Linked DNA regions of Homo sapiens: all the other regions are linked to region 2. Evidence: promoter capture Hi-C in 16 types of primary human blood cells and fetal thymus (Javierre and others, 2016). All regions are on one chromosome and are shown on one strand. Each heading gives the region's core, a stretch centred on a gene start or on the middle of the fragment in contact. The rest is flanking DNA. Distances are from core to core; before and after follow the strand shown. Region 1 holds the start of IQCB1 (IQ motif containing B1). Region 2 has its middle 29 kb from the start of CSTA. Region 3 holds the start of FBXO40 (F-box protein 40).

Evidence for each region. The method cuts DNA at HindIII sites, captures the fragments that hold promoters and counts their contacts. A CHiCAGO score of 5 or more calls a contact.
Region 1: the fragment with the promoter of IQCB1 here is called in contact with a fragment that was not itself captured in region 2 in 1 of 17 cell types (M1 macrophages); the score reaches 5.1 in M1 macrophages.
Region 3: a contact is called between the fragment with the promoter of FBXO40 here and a fragment that was not itself captured in region 2, in 1 of 17 cell types (total CD8 T cells). The highest score is 5.5, in total CD8 T cells.

What each region holds. Positions count from the first base shown.
Region 1 is chr3:121,832,143-121,836,765 of GRCh38, reverse strand. IQCB1 (IQ motif containing B1) reads left to right here and starts at 1,706. Exons shown (of 15, transcript NM_001023570.4): 1 at 1,706-1,800; 2 at 2,287-2,375. EAF2 (ELL associated factor 2) reads right to left here and starts at 1,557. Exons shown (of 6, transcript NM_018456.6): 1 at 1,375-1,557. The coding sequence starts at 1,480. The HindIII fragment of the contact is 9,498 bases long and covers 1-3,683 here.
Region 2 is chr3:122,351,964-122,356,466 of GRCh38, reverse strand. No RefSeq gene overlaps it. Among named protein-coding and RNA genes, the nearest start is that of CSTA, 29 kb to the right of the region's middle. The HindIII fragment of the contact is 1,938 bases long and covers 1,630-3,567 here.
Region 3 is chr3:121,591,070-121,595,812 of GRCh38, reverse strand. FBXO40 (F-box protein 40) reads right to left here and starts at 2,434. Exons shown (of 4, transcript NM_016298.4): 1 at 2,311-2,434. LOC124906360 (small nucleolar RNA U13) reads right to left here and starts at 4,519; the gene lies at 4,419-4,519. RefSeq lists enhancers at 1,762-2,413, 2,414-3,064, 1,878-3,077 and a silencer at 2,197-2,491. The HindIII fragment of the contact is 3,467 bases long and covers 988-4,454 here.

The DNA of each region.
Region 1 (4,623 bases), core at 457-2,956, 520 kb after region 2:
ATACTATTTGAGAAAAAGGCATGGAAAAACCAGATAAAGACGCATATCACACTTCCGGAAAATGGGACTGAAGAGAGAGAAACTGCAGAGCCAGCACAGCACCATCTCATCGTGGGGAGCTCTGGATGAGAAAGTATATGATAAAGAAGAATAAACAAGGGACACTGTTGAAGAGTTTCTGTTCACAAATATCTCACCCATTTATTCTACCAATTGGATGTTAATTTTGCTTTAAAAAAACCCTTTTAGTAAATATATTCTTGCAGGGTTAAAACCAGTGGTTCTTCATACCTTTACTTTGAGTAACTATAACTAAATTGTCTACAACTTAAATAAACTTTTGGGAGAATGTATGCTTTAATTAGTTGTTTTGATTGAACCATGGAACATTTCAGAGTAAAAACCATAAAGGTCTCTAAACAACCCGAGAACAGAATGACTGAGAAAGGCGGAATGATGAGATATTAAGGAAGGGCAAGGCTGGGGAAAGGAAGTGAAAAAATACTTACAGTTTTACCACAGAAAAATGAGAAGTTATAATTCAGTGATCTTGAAGTTTCCTTCCCGCTCTACAATTCTATGACAGTTGTTATGCAAAAAACGAATGTCTTACACATAAAAACTTATATGCTATATTTTCCTTCCTGGAATCTATATCATCCAACTGCTAAAGCAAAAGAGCTCCTTTTTCTACTCCAACAACATAAAAGAGAATAATTTATTAAAACTAGTTCCAGAGGACATAAAGAAAACCAAAGGGTAGAAATCATAGGGAGGTAAGCATCTTCCAAATAAAGAAATTAATAACACACCCTCGAATACTTTGATAATCAGTATTTGATAACTGAGTGAAATCTGGGGTCCAAAGAGATATACAGATCATTGGGATGGTTGAGAATTTCTCCCTTTGCAAAGAACACACCAAATAAGAACCCTCATCTGCCAGAGGTGAGAAAAAGTGATGAAAAGAGAGAATATTGCCCCACCAGCCTCAAGGCATTCAAGTTCCCCGGCATTCGGTCCTTAGTCCCTTCCCATTTGTCACCTTATTATTTTCCTGTCCACCCCTGCATCATCCACCTGTCACGTCTGTCTCCACAGTCACCTCTACAGACTTTTTTCACACTTTCCCTTCCTGTCTGCTGGTCTCAACGCTCTCTGTCCAGGGTTTACCCACATTTGCTCTACTCCGATTCCTTCCACCGACCCCCTAAGACTCCGAGCAGGTTAGAGGATCGCGCTGCCTCCCCCCTCCCCGCCCCGTAGTCTCCAACAGTGTAAGGGGTACTGTGGGAACAAAACCCAGAGGGGTTTGTGCCTCTTCACCCCCATCCCGGGAGGCTCCCCCTCTATCCCCGGATGGTCCTCACTCACAGCGCACAGTGTGGAAGGCGCAGCGCGGCTGCTTCTCGAAACTCTCCCCTAACTTGAGAACCCGCTCGCGACGGTCTAGGTGTGAGAATCCCGCTGCGCTATTCATAATTACTCTCCTGCTTTGACTTTAACTCCGCCACCAGCGCTCACTATCTGCCACCTCAGCCTGAAGCAGCTGCACTTGATCCCGCCAGCCAAGTCACCCAGACTCCACCCCGCGCTCGACGCGCACCGCCCCACCGGAGCGTCTCACGTTCTGATTGGCTTATTAGCAAAGGGCGCTCCGCCCCTTGACTCCGAGGCTCCTAGTCCCGCCTCCAGGCCCCTTCCCGCGTCGCGACGCACGCTGCCCCGGAAGGCCGCGGCGCTGTAGTGCGGCGTGGGAGCCCCAGGTTCTTTAGTGGAAGAACGCGAAGCGAGGATGAGGTAACTTATCTGAGGTGGTGGCTGGGGAGGGAGAGGGCCCCAGGGCGCCTACCAGGAGGCCAGGACCCCAGGCTCCTGGACGAAGTCAGCCGGCTTGTAAGAGCTCTTAACGGGAGAATCGGCCTGCCCTCACGCCCACTCTGTAGAGATCTGGTGTGGAAACTGAGGCCTGGGGAGGTGCAGTGTCCAGGCACAGGGCCTAGTGTCTTATCCAAGGCCTGGTAGCGCGAAAGCCGGGTCTAGAATCTGGAGTAAAGGAGCCCAGAGGCCCCAGAATCTCGGTCCTTAGACTTGAAGCGACGCTGTTACCTCAGTAATCGTTTTCTGACCTTTTTGTACCAGAGGAAGTTTCTTGTGGTCCTAGGACTGGAGAAGGGGATGTGTAGTGGGGAGGAGAAAGAGGATTCGGAGATAGCAACTGCAGACATTTAGGATCAGCCGCAACAGGATCGCACTGAATTTCCTTTTCATTTATTTTCCTCACAGTGATCCGTGGAGGCAGTAACAGGCGCGGCGAGGGAGAAGTGATTCCCGAAGAATCAAGGCTGGGCCGGACCCGGTGGCCTGGCAACAGGGTAGTAGCCTTAAAATAGATAAATAATTGTCTTTTTGTGTCAAATTTCATGAATTTAATGTAAAGATGGGAGAAGTGTTGAATTATAGGAGAAACACTCGAGAAAGTTTACAGATGGTTTCCATAACAGGTGGTTTTTCAGGGTAATTACGCAATCCAACTGCACTCCCTCACCTTCTGCCTTAGGCACATTTGTCAATTGATTTTGGGGTAGGTGGTTATGTCTCCTTCAACCTGTCTGTGTAAATCCTACCCTTTGAAGGTGTGCCGAAGCTGTTTCATATCGTAGTTAAATGCTTTAAGGCAGATGGTGGCTCTAGTTTGAACCCCTGCTTTATACTTAACAGTGTGACTTTGTGCCAGCTAATTACATTCTCCAGAGTTTAAGTATGCTCATTGTTCAAATTGGGAAAAAAATAATAGTATCTGTTCCTTAGAGTTGTTGGAATGATTAAATGAGTTAATACATGAAAGCAATTAGAACAATTCCTGGAGCATGATAAGAGGTCTCCAAATGGTTATTTAAGGCCCAGCTCTACACTTATACTACATTTTAAGACCATCTTGGTGGCTGCCTTCTCTTCTAAATAGAATCATTCTAGGAGGTAGGAATTGCTATTTTGTTTACAGCAAGAAAAATGGTTCAGAGAAGCCCAGTCCTCTGACTTTATGGCCTGTATTCTTATCTGTGTCATCTATTTAGCATTTAACATATATCTGATATTCTTAAGTATATTTTTTTGTATCTGTGTGTGTGTACACATGTACATAAACATACTTTTCTTTCCCAACCAGAACAATAGCAGAGAGTATGTCTTGTGTAGAATCTTTGCATCCCCTGCATCTACCATACTGCTCTGCACATATTTGTTGATGACAATAATGATTTAGTGATGTTTTATTACGGTAGCCAGGAGGGCACAAACTGTTTTGAGCCTATTTTACGTTAGAGAGGCTTCCAACTATAAATCTGAGCTTTCTCTATTGTAACAAGAGAAAAACAGAAAGTCAAGAAATTGAGGCTCAGAATGCCTGAGGTTTGTGCATTTACTCATACTTTCAACCTGTATTTAGCAAATCCTAGTACGTGCCAGGTACTAGTCTAGCCACTGGGAATACAGTTGTGAACCAAAGATATAAGAAGGCAGCCAGCAAAGATGGTCTTAAAATGTAGTATGATGGTAGAACTGGGCTTTAATAATAACCATTTGGAGAGCTCTTACTATGTGCCAGGAATTGTTCCAATTGCTTTCATGTATTAACTCATTTAATCATCTCTAAGGGATAGGTAGGTTGCCCTCATGAAGCTTACCTTCTGAGGTGAATTTTCTCCAAACATATATTAAAATGAACTATGTTGTACTAGCTCAAGAATAGACAAACAGATTAAATTACTAGAAACTAAGTAGAGTCCAAAAAGATACCCTGTGTATGTGTATGTATACATAGTGCATGAAAATGTGACGTTTCAGATTGTTTCTGTTATGTCTATTCATAACTAGTTACCTTATGAATTTATGACTACTGTGTGCATTTTTTAATCCATCAATAACTTTAACATTAAAAATTAGATTCTTATATGACACCATTCACAAAAATACCTTACTTTAGAAGATATGTAAGGAAAACAAAACCAAAAAAACATGAAGATTTGGAGAATGTTTTTTATCTCTTGGGTTAGAGAGGACCTTTCTAAACAGGACACAAAAGACAGATGCCATAGAGGAAAAGATTGTTATATTTCATATGTAAAAATTGTAAAAATGGCTGGGCGCTGTGGCTCATGCCTGTAATCCCAGCACTTTGGGAGGCCGAAGTGGGCAGACCACTTGAGGTCATGAGTTCAAGACCAGCCTGGCCAACATGGTGAAACCCCATCTCTACTAAAAATACAAAAATTAGCTGGGCACGTTGGCACACGCCTGTAATCCCAGCTACTTGGGAGGCTGAGGCATGAAATCACTTGAACCCAGGAGGTGGAGGATGCAGTGAGCTGAGATTGCACCACTGCACTGCAGCCAGGGTAAACAGAGTCAGACTCTCTCTCAAAAAAAAAAAAAAAAATTGTAAAATTATGGTAAAGACCCCATAGTCAAATTTAAAAAAATAAATGACAAGGAGAAAATTTTACAGCCAATATAAAAGAGAAAAGATTCCTATCCATGTATGAAAAGCTTCTGCAAAAGAATAAGACAAACCGATAGAAATATAGTCAAGGGATATGAATAGAAAATACATAAAAGAAATAA
Region 2 (4,503 bases), core at 1,349-3,848:
GCTTAAAAGCCCCCAGTGGCTGGCCGGGCGCAGTGGCTTACGCCTGTAATCCCAGCACTTTGGGAGGCCAAGGTGGGTGGATCACTTGAGGTCAGGAGTTCAAGACCAGCCTGGCCAACATGGTGAAACCCAGTCTCTACTAAAAATACAAAAATTAGCTGGGCGTGGTGGCGGGCGCCTGTAATCCAAGCTACTCAGAGGGCTGAGGCAGGAGAATTGCTTAAACCCAGGAGGTGGAGGTTGCAGTGAGCTGAGATTGCGCCACTGCACTCCAGCCTGGGCGACAGATTTTTGACAGATTTGAGACTCTGTCTCAAAAAAAAAAAAAAAAAGCACCCCCAGTGGCTTCTTAGTGCCTTGAAGACAGGTACAAATTCCTTAAAGTGGCTTAGGAAGTCCATGCTCTGTCTCCTGCTCACCTCCAACCTCACTGCTCGCTATGGTGCACTCTGTTCCCCACTAAACTTCTTTGTGCTGCAAGAAAAGACCCAGTCTCACCTCTGAACATCTGTGCATTCTCTCTCTTCCCTGGCCAACTCCTATCCATGCTTCAGGTCTCAGCTATCATTTCCTTCAGCAAGGCTTTCCTGACCTCTCAAATACAAGTTACGTGTCCCTTTTATGCACATCCACGATAACACCTCCATCACGATCTTTATCACACTGTTACAGTTCCTCGCTTATCTCTTTCCTCCACCTGTTTTTGAGGGCTGGCACTGTGCTTCTCAGTGTCTGAGCTGGATGAGACACTGCTAGTTTCCTACCCTATATTCATTTTTCTCTTCCTTACCAATAGAATCCTGGTTTTGTTTAGGGTAGCATTGTGCCCAGCTTCCCCTGCAGCTCCAAGTATCAGCCAGACAATCCTGACCAATGAGATAGGCTAGGGCATTTTTGAGAAACGTTTACAGTGTGAAGAGAACTGTCCCTTCCTCCTCTTTTCCTCCTTCTTCCTACCTCGAATGTGGTTAGGGTGGCTAGAAGTGACAAGGATTAGGGCTATTTGCCTATGTGGTGACAAAGACGAAAGATGAAGACGAAAACCATGTCTGAACATGGCTGAACAGAAAGAAGGAGAAGGAATTGTGTGTTGTCATTCCAGCCCTGGGCTACCTGCCTTCAAACTTGTTATTATATGAAGGTGGTGAGATGTTATTATCTGTTCATTTGGGGATGTAACAGGGGTGGTTACCCTATTTGGTTAAACCTCTATATTTGGGATTCTATTACATGCAGCCAAATGTAGCCCACAAGTAATATGCTGCTCAAATATTTGTTCAATTAATGAAGATTATAATAATAACCGCTCATTTGCTGAGTGGTTACCACAAATTAGGCTCCATTCTAAGTAATTTACGGCAGATTCTAATAGGAAAATTCTGGAGAATACTAAGCCCTACATGAAGAAATAGGCAGAATTGTGTGGAAGAATTTGGGAGAAATCTATCTTATTTCTCTAAAAGGAAACTTAGCATTAATCGCTGGCCCAACCAGGACCTGTCCATTACTTGGTTCCTAAGGGTGGGGATCAGATCTCTTTAACATATTGCAACGTGTTGGCTGGGTGCGGTGGCTCACACCTATAATCTCAACACTTTGGGAGGCCAAGGCAGGCAGGTTGCTTAAGCTTGGGAGTTTAAGGCCAGCCTGGGCAACATGGTGAAACCCCATCTCTACCAACAATACAAAAAAATTAGCCAGGTGTGGTGGTGTGTGCCTGTGGTCCCAGCTACTCTGGAGGCTGAGGTGGGAGGATTGCTTGAGCCCAGGAGGCGGAGGTTGCAGTGAGGTGTGATCACACCACTGAACTCTAGCCCAGGCAAAAGAGTGAGACTCCATCTCAAAAATAATAATAATAAAAATAAAATAAAATATTTCAACACGTGAATGCCGTTCCCGCCTTGCTCAGTTGTTCAGCCCACAATCTCTCCCTACTTCTCTAAGGACAAATATGCTGGTCAGTCTATCTAAGTATCTCTGTCTGTCTATCTATTTATCTATCTGTCTATCTCTCTCTCTCTCTCTATCTAATATACCTTTCTGCTTTTTATCTACTTATCCATCCATTCATCCATTTGTCATGTGGATCAGATGCCTGCTACATCAGAGCCCTTTCTAAGGAAGACTGACCCACAGCTCCTACTGAAAGAGTGCCCCCAGCTGACCCATTCTGCATTAGGTTGATTAGACTAAGGTTGGGCAGCTCACCCAAGAACTGCCAAACCTTAAGTTGGCCAGTGTCCTATGACATGACTTGGGGCAAAAAGAGGATCTGGGCAATCAAATTTTTCACAGCTTTGAACTGAGAAATACTGAGAGAATTATGTAGTGAGTGGTGCGAAGTAAGGCCTGAAGGAGCAGGGTGATAAGGCACAACAGGGGCCATGGAAGCTCAATGTTCTGAGAAAGCAGAAGCTGTAACAAGGATGTACACTGTGAGGCAGAGAAGAGTTATATAGAGTAGAAGGAAGAACACCAGTGGAAGCTGGCAGAAAAGTAGACACAAAGAGAAGTACAGACAGCTGCTTGGGGAACAGCTGAGACCCATTAATGATGGAGCCCTAGAACAAAAACCCATTACCACAGTTCCTCAGGTTCTTAGAGCTGCCTGGATTCTGATTCTGGCTATGAGACCCAGTTCTGTGTGGGCCCCTTTCCTCTATGAAGCCTGGCTATTTGGCATTTTCTAGATTTCTAAGCAAATGCATCTTTATAAAGAATCCCTGTTACATAAAATAAATTCTCTTGAACCAAAAGAGCCTATCTAAAACATTCCCAGTGAGCCAGTGTCCAAGCAGTATCTCCCTGTTTAAATAATCCACTGACATTAGCACATTATTTTCCTCATGAAATACTTCTCATATTGTTCAGAGCAGCAGGGATGGGTTTGGGTAGCTCCTTGGGTGAAACTCATCACTGCGTCTGAACTTCAAGTCCAACAAGGTAAGCCTCTGAGCCTCCAGGGCCCAGGATGGGTCTCTGGAACTCTCCAAATGAGAAACTAGACAGATGATGATTGATTCTCTCCCTCAGGTAGGGGAGGAAATCTGTTTCCCAGAGAGAACAGAATAAGCCCTGCCCACAGCCCTGGGCACGGTCATACCCTCTGAATCTTCACTTGGCCCAATACCAGTGGCCACACACTGTGCCAAAAACACAGTCTGTGGCAGAAAATTCTAGGAGTGCCTGCCAGAGTACAGATTGAGTCTCTCACCCTTGCAAGGCAAGAGTACATTCTCTGTCTCTCCCTTTGGGGTCAGGCAAAATAATATTTGCAATAGAGTACAAATTCTTGCTTCCAGATTCCATTTCAAATTTGGTGGGGAAAATATTTCAGAGATGTAATTTTTCCTTTGGTTGCAAGAGTACTGCTGAGGGAAGATCGGTCTTTTTTGAGGGGAAACTTGTTCCTTTAACAGCTGTTAATGACGAAGAAACTTCCAAACACTCTTTCCATCAGCAGTTTATCCAGTTGCAGGTCTCTTATTCTCATTACTCTGAGAATCCCAATAATTCTGGAGAATAAGTCTAATTCAAACACCACTTCCTAACCCTTTAAAATAAGCTTTAAAAAAAATAGTCATCTTCTGCAATAAAGTTGTTTTTAAATTATTCCAATTTTTCACTTTTTAACCAATTTGTAATTTGTTATGGTATATATGAAATTTGTATCCAAATTTTTGATTATATTCCAAAATAAAATGCAGTATTTCAACAGCATTTAGTAAATAAAAAAATATTTTTACATTGCTTTTGTTCCATCTGGCTTAAACAAATTTGGCTCACATTTTTTTTTTTCCTTTTGGGGGAGAAGCCTTGCTCTGTCACCCAGGTTGGAGTGCAGTGGCACAATCTCAGTTCACTGCAACCTCTGCCTCCCGGGTTCAGGGGAGGTTCCTGCCTCAGCCTCCTGAGTAGCTGGGATTACAAGCATGCACCACCACACCCATCTAATTTTTGTACTTTTAGTAGGATGGGGTTTTACCATGTTATCCAGGCTGGTCTCTAACTCCTGACCTCAAGTGATCTGCCCACCTTGGCCTCCTAAAGTGCTGGGATTACAGGTGTGAGCCACCATGCCTGGCCTGGCTCAGTGGAATATTTTGTAATACATTTTATACTTTAAGATATATTTTTAATTCCATTACAGCTAGTATTTCCACTACACCTTTTCCCTTTATATCACAGTAGCACTCAACCCTTGCTGACATCAGAATCACCTGGACTATTTTCCAGAGATTCTTTTTTAATCGATCTGCAGTGGTACCCTACCTTGGAATTTTTGGTGTTAGTTTATAAGTTAAGAGACTCTAATATGCAGGCAAGATCAAGAATCCCTGCACACATTACTTGATATTTTTTCCTATTTATTTTTATGTATTGTTACGTTCTCTTTAACATGAAGTGTACCTAACCAGCAACAGGATATGTTTATCTATTTGTTCAAGTCTTTTATTTTGGAGAGTGAATTGTTGTAGAGTCACATGTTACTGAACAATGGGG
Region 3 (4,743 bases), core at 1,185-3,684, 760 kb after region 2:
TTAGTTACTTTAATTATGCATTGTTGACCTGTTTCCCTGCTATGGAAATATTTAATTGTAGGGAAAGAAAATGTATAAAGATAATTATTAAAGTAATCTCTTTGCCTTCTTGAGATTTTAACACAATCACTTTGCTGAGGCTAATTCCCACATTGGGTTCCATAATCCTTGGCTTCGACGCTGCGATTCCAGTACCTTCACTGTATCCTAAAACAGAACCACCCTCTCCCAGATCCATTCCACTTCACAATCTGAAGTTTTCCACCTATACTAGAAATCTCTCTAACTTTATACTTATTAGTTATTGAATTAGCTAGTTAATTCTTATATCTGGTGCTTTTGTATCAGTACTATTCTATTAAATTACAGTTGCATTGGCCAAGATAGTGCTAAAGTAACTGGATTATCTAGGGGTAGCTGGGACTCAATCTGTCTGCTTGGTTACTTGTAAGCCAACACACCCTAGTTTCACCAGGACAGCATCCCAGCATACACCTTGGAGACCTTGGTGCTGTGGAGGCCCTGGAAAAATTAAATGAAGTTAGGTGATTATACACAGTGAATTTGCTTGTGCCCAGGAAACAGGCATAATGATAACCCAGACACCTATAGCAGAGTCTTGGGGTACATATGGAGGTTACAGAGACAGGCAGGAAGGAACCAGGAGTTAAGGTATCTGAATAGTTAGTTTAGGTCTCCTTTTACTTGGCATCGGTGGCTTTAGCCTGTACACATCAAAGGTCAGAGTGTACAGAATCCCTTTTGCTGCATAGGCCACTTCCCAGGATGTCCTTAGCTGAACTTTGAACCAGTGAAAAACAAGAAAATAAACACTGCTCCCTTACCTTGCCAATTTTTAGTGCATGCAACACTATACAGTTATTCCAGAAGCGAGAAACTATCTGTCTAAAGTTATAACTTTTGATACCTCAAGTATCATTAGTCATTTTACTTTTATCCCTCTGAATATGCAAAATTGTTCAAGCTTGTAACAATCTTTGGTTTTGGTGCATAAGCCTATATAAGTTTTTCAACTTGAGAAATATTTCACTTATATTTCATGGATGCATTTTGGACTCAAGAGAGCTGGGGAGAAGAGGGCCACACTTAGAGAATATTGTTGGCGAAAAAAAGGTGTTAAACTCTGCGGAGTTTGAATAGTATATACAGAAAATACAGTTGTGCTTATTAACCAGTAGTATGACACAGCAGACGAAATTTTAAGCTACATGAGAATGACTTGCAAGCAAACATAGCAAATGTTGACTGGAGAAAAGATCACAGCATTTAGACTTTAGAAAACAGAAATTCTGATCAGGCACAGCGGCTCATGCTTGTATTCTCAGCACTTTGGGAGGCCGAAGCGGGTGGATCACTTGAGGCCAGGAGTTCAAGACCAGCCTGGCCAACATGGTGAAACCCCATCTCTACTAAAAATACAAAAATTAGCCAGGCGTGGTGGCACAGGCCTGTAGTCCCAGCTACTCAGGAGGCTGAAGCAGGAGGCTCTCTTGAACCTAGAAGGTGGAGGTTGCAGTGAGCTGAGACTGCACCACTGCACTCCAGCCTGGGCAACAGAGTGAGACTCTGTCTCAAAAAAATAATAACAATGAATTAAATAAATAAATAAATAATAGAAATTCTGGGCCAGGCACAGTGGCTCAGACCTGTAATCCCAGCGCTTTTGGAGGCTGAGGTGGGCGGATCATTTGAGGCCAGGAGTTCAAGACCAGCCTAGCCATCAAGGTGAAACTCTGTCTCTACTAAAAAAATACAAAAATTGGCCGGATGTGGTGGCATGTGCCTGTAGTCTCAGCTACTCGGAAGGCTGAGGCAGGAGAATCACTAGAACCTGGGAGGTAGGGGCTGCAGTGAGCCAAGATGGTGCCACTGCACTCCAGCCTGGGTGACAGAGCAAGACTGTCTCAAAAAAGAAAGAAAAGGGAATAGAAATCCTGGATTCTAGGCCTTCCACTTGTTTCCTCACCACCTCCTCCACTTCCCCAGATCCCCCCACCCATCACCATGTTGTAACTTTACAGATATCATAACTACTCTTGTTGATTATAGAAGAAAGAACCTAAGCTGTCAGAAAGCAAGTACTCTACCTGCTCTTGAAATGGAAACAGAAATTTACACACGGCTGGATCTCATTCTCAGTGCCAGCCTTTCCCCCACATCTTTACATAACTAATTTGCTTAACAATCCTCTTCCACAGGACACAAAAGTGATATGCGGCTCAGCTTCATCTGCATATTCACCACTGAATGTCCTCGTCATGGTGCACCTGCTCCTGTTTGAATACTTACCTTAATGGAACAGGCTGAGTCAGCATCTGCTTGCACCTGAACCCTTGATTGCAAGTAAGCGGATTGCCGGGAGGTGGCTGGGTTGCATCAGCTGCAGTAGAGGACAGCGTTCTGTTGGGAAGGCAGGGAAAGGAGAGAAAACTTCAACAGAAATAGTCCAAGTGTTGCGAAGTTAAAAATAAAACGATATCACAAGGGGCAATGTGACCAGGCTCAGCTTACGACTTTTTCCTTCCCCTGTATTTATCAACACTCAGTCTCTACTGGAGTGGCATTTAGCAGGGGAAACTGAATGGGAAGTGAAGTTTTATATCAATAGGTTTTCTTTCCCTTGAGGAAGGAGGAAAATCCTTTTAAGAAGGATCATTTTCAAGGCCAGAACAGCCTCTCAGATTCCTGCATGTGCAGTCGGCAGGCCCAGCTGTGCTGAAGGAGGCTGGCACAGCCTTCAGGACTGGCTGCTGCTCTAATTATAACCATGCTCCTCACCTAAACCCATCACTGGCTGAAGCAGCAACTTGTGCAAATGACATGGTGTCCTGCTTCAGTTTCTCCTATCTCTTGTCGTGACAAGTAAGTGTCTGTCCTCCCCTGGTCCTTTCATCTTTCCTGGAAAAGGGAGAGTTTGTAATTCAGATACCAGGTGTAGAGTAAATCCAGTGTGAGAGAATTAGAGGTTGTAGGAGGCTTTAGCTGTCATTTAGTCCAGCTCCCTCTTTTTACAGATGAGGAGACAGAGATTCAGAAAAGGGAAATTGCTCATCCAAGGTCACACATCTCGTTAGTGGAAGAGCCAGAGGAAAGCCCCAGAGAGCTTGTTTAACTCTCAGTCTAGCGTTCTTTATCTTATCATCTTCAGATAAACTCATTCAGGATCTTGTGAGTGAAAAAAATATAGAATCCCGGCTTTGGTGTTTTCTTTTTCTTTTTTTTTTTTTTGAGACAGAGTCTCGCTCTGTTGCCCAGGATAGAGTGCAGTGGCGTGATCTCGGCTCACTGCAACCTCCACCTCCTGGCTTCAAGTGATTCTCCTGCCTCAGCCTCCTGAGTATCTGGGATTACAGGCACGTACCACCATACCTGGCTAATTTTTGTATTTTTAGCAGAGACGGGGTTTCACCATGTTTGTCACGCTGGTCTCGAAATCCTGACCTCATGATCCTCCCACCTCAGCCTCCCAAAGTGCTGGGATTAGGTATGTGATTTTGACAAATTTACTTAACCATTTTCTATTTCAGTTTTCCCCATTGTGAAATGGCGATGATACTTGGTGCGACCACAGGTAACTGTGTCAGTACACATAAGGCACATGAATGATATGTACCACATGCCAAGTGCTCCACAATGCCAGCTGTTATTTGAATGTATTTGAATGTATTTTGACTAACAGCAGATGTGCTAAATTTGGCTGTGATTAACAGCCATCGAATTAACCTTTCCCCTGGATTCTTCATACATATATGTCCTTGGAGGTAAACTTATTTGGAATGAGCAAATAGCAGTTGAAAATTGTAAAAAATTTCTACACTGATCTTGTATCTTGAAACTTTGCTGAACTGGTTTATTAGTTCTAATAGTTTTCTTGTGGATTCCTTAGGATTTTCAAGACCATGCCATCTGTTAACAAAAATATTTTAACTTCTTTCTTTGCGATTTGGATGCCTTTAACTTCCTTTTCTTGCTGTTTTTCCCTGCCTAGAACTTCCAGCACTATGTTTAACAAGAGTGGTGAGAGTGGCCACACTTCACTTGTTCCTGATCTTAGGGGGGAAGCATTCAGTCTTCCACCAATAAGTACAATGTTACCTGTGGATTTTTGTAGATGGCCTTTATCAAGTTGAAGGAGAGGAGTTTGATAGTTTGTTCTAGTTTGTTGAGTGAATCAAGAAAGAGTGTGGATCTTCATCAAATGCTTTTTCTGTGCCCAGCAAGATGATCATGTGGTTTTTGTCCTTTATTCTATTAATATCGTGTATTACATTGATGAATTTTTTTATGTTGAATCAATCTTCCATTCCTGAATAAACCCTACTTGGTCATGGTATCTATCCTTTTTATATGTTGCTAAATTTAGTTTGTTAGTATTTTATTGAGAATTTGTTTTTTCAAGTCAGATGCATAATGTGCCAATGTTGAAACAAGCTTCGAGGGTAGCACTCACACATCCACGTGAATGCCCAATCATCACATTCATGAACTACAAAAGGATCTTATTGAGGATTTTTGCGTCTATATTCAGAAGAGGTATTACAGGTTGAGTATCCCCAATCTGAAATCTGAATTCCAAAATGCTTTAAAATCCAAAATTATTTGAGTGCTGATGTGACACCACAAGAGGAAAGTTCCACACTTGGCCTCATATGGTGGGTCATAGTCAAAACGCACTCGAAACTTTGTTTCATCCACAGAGTTACTTAAAATATTGTGCAATTA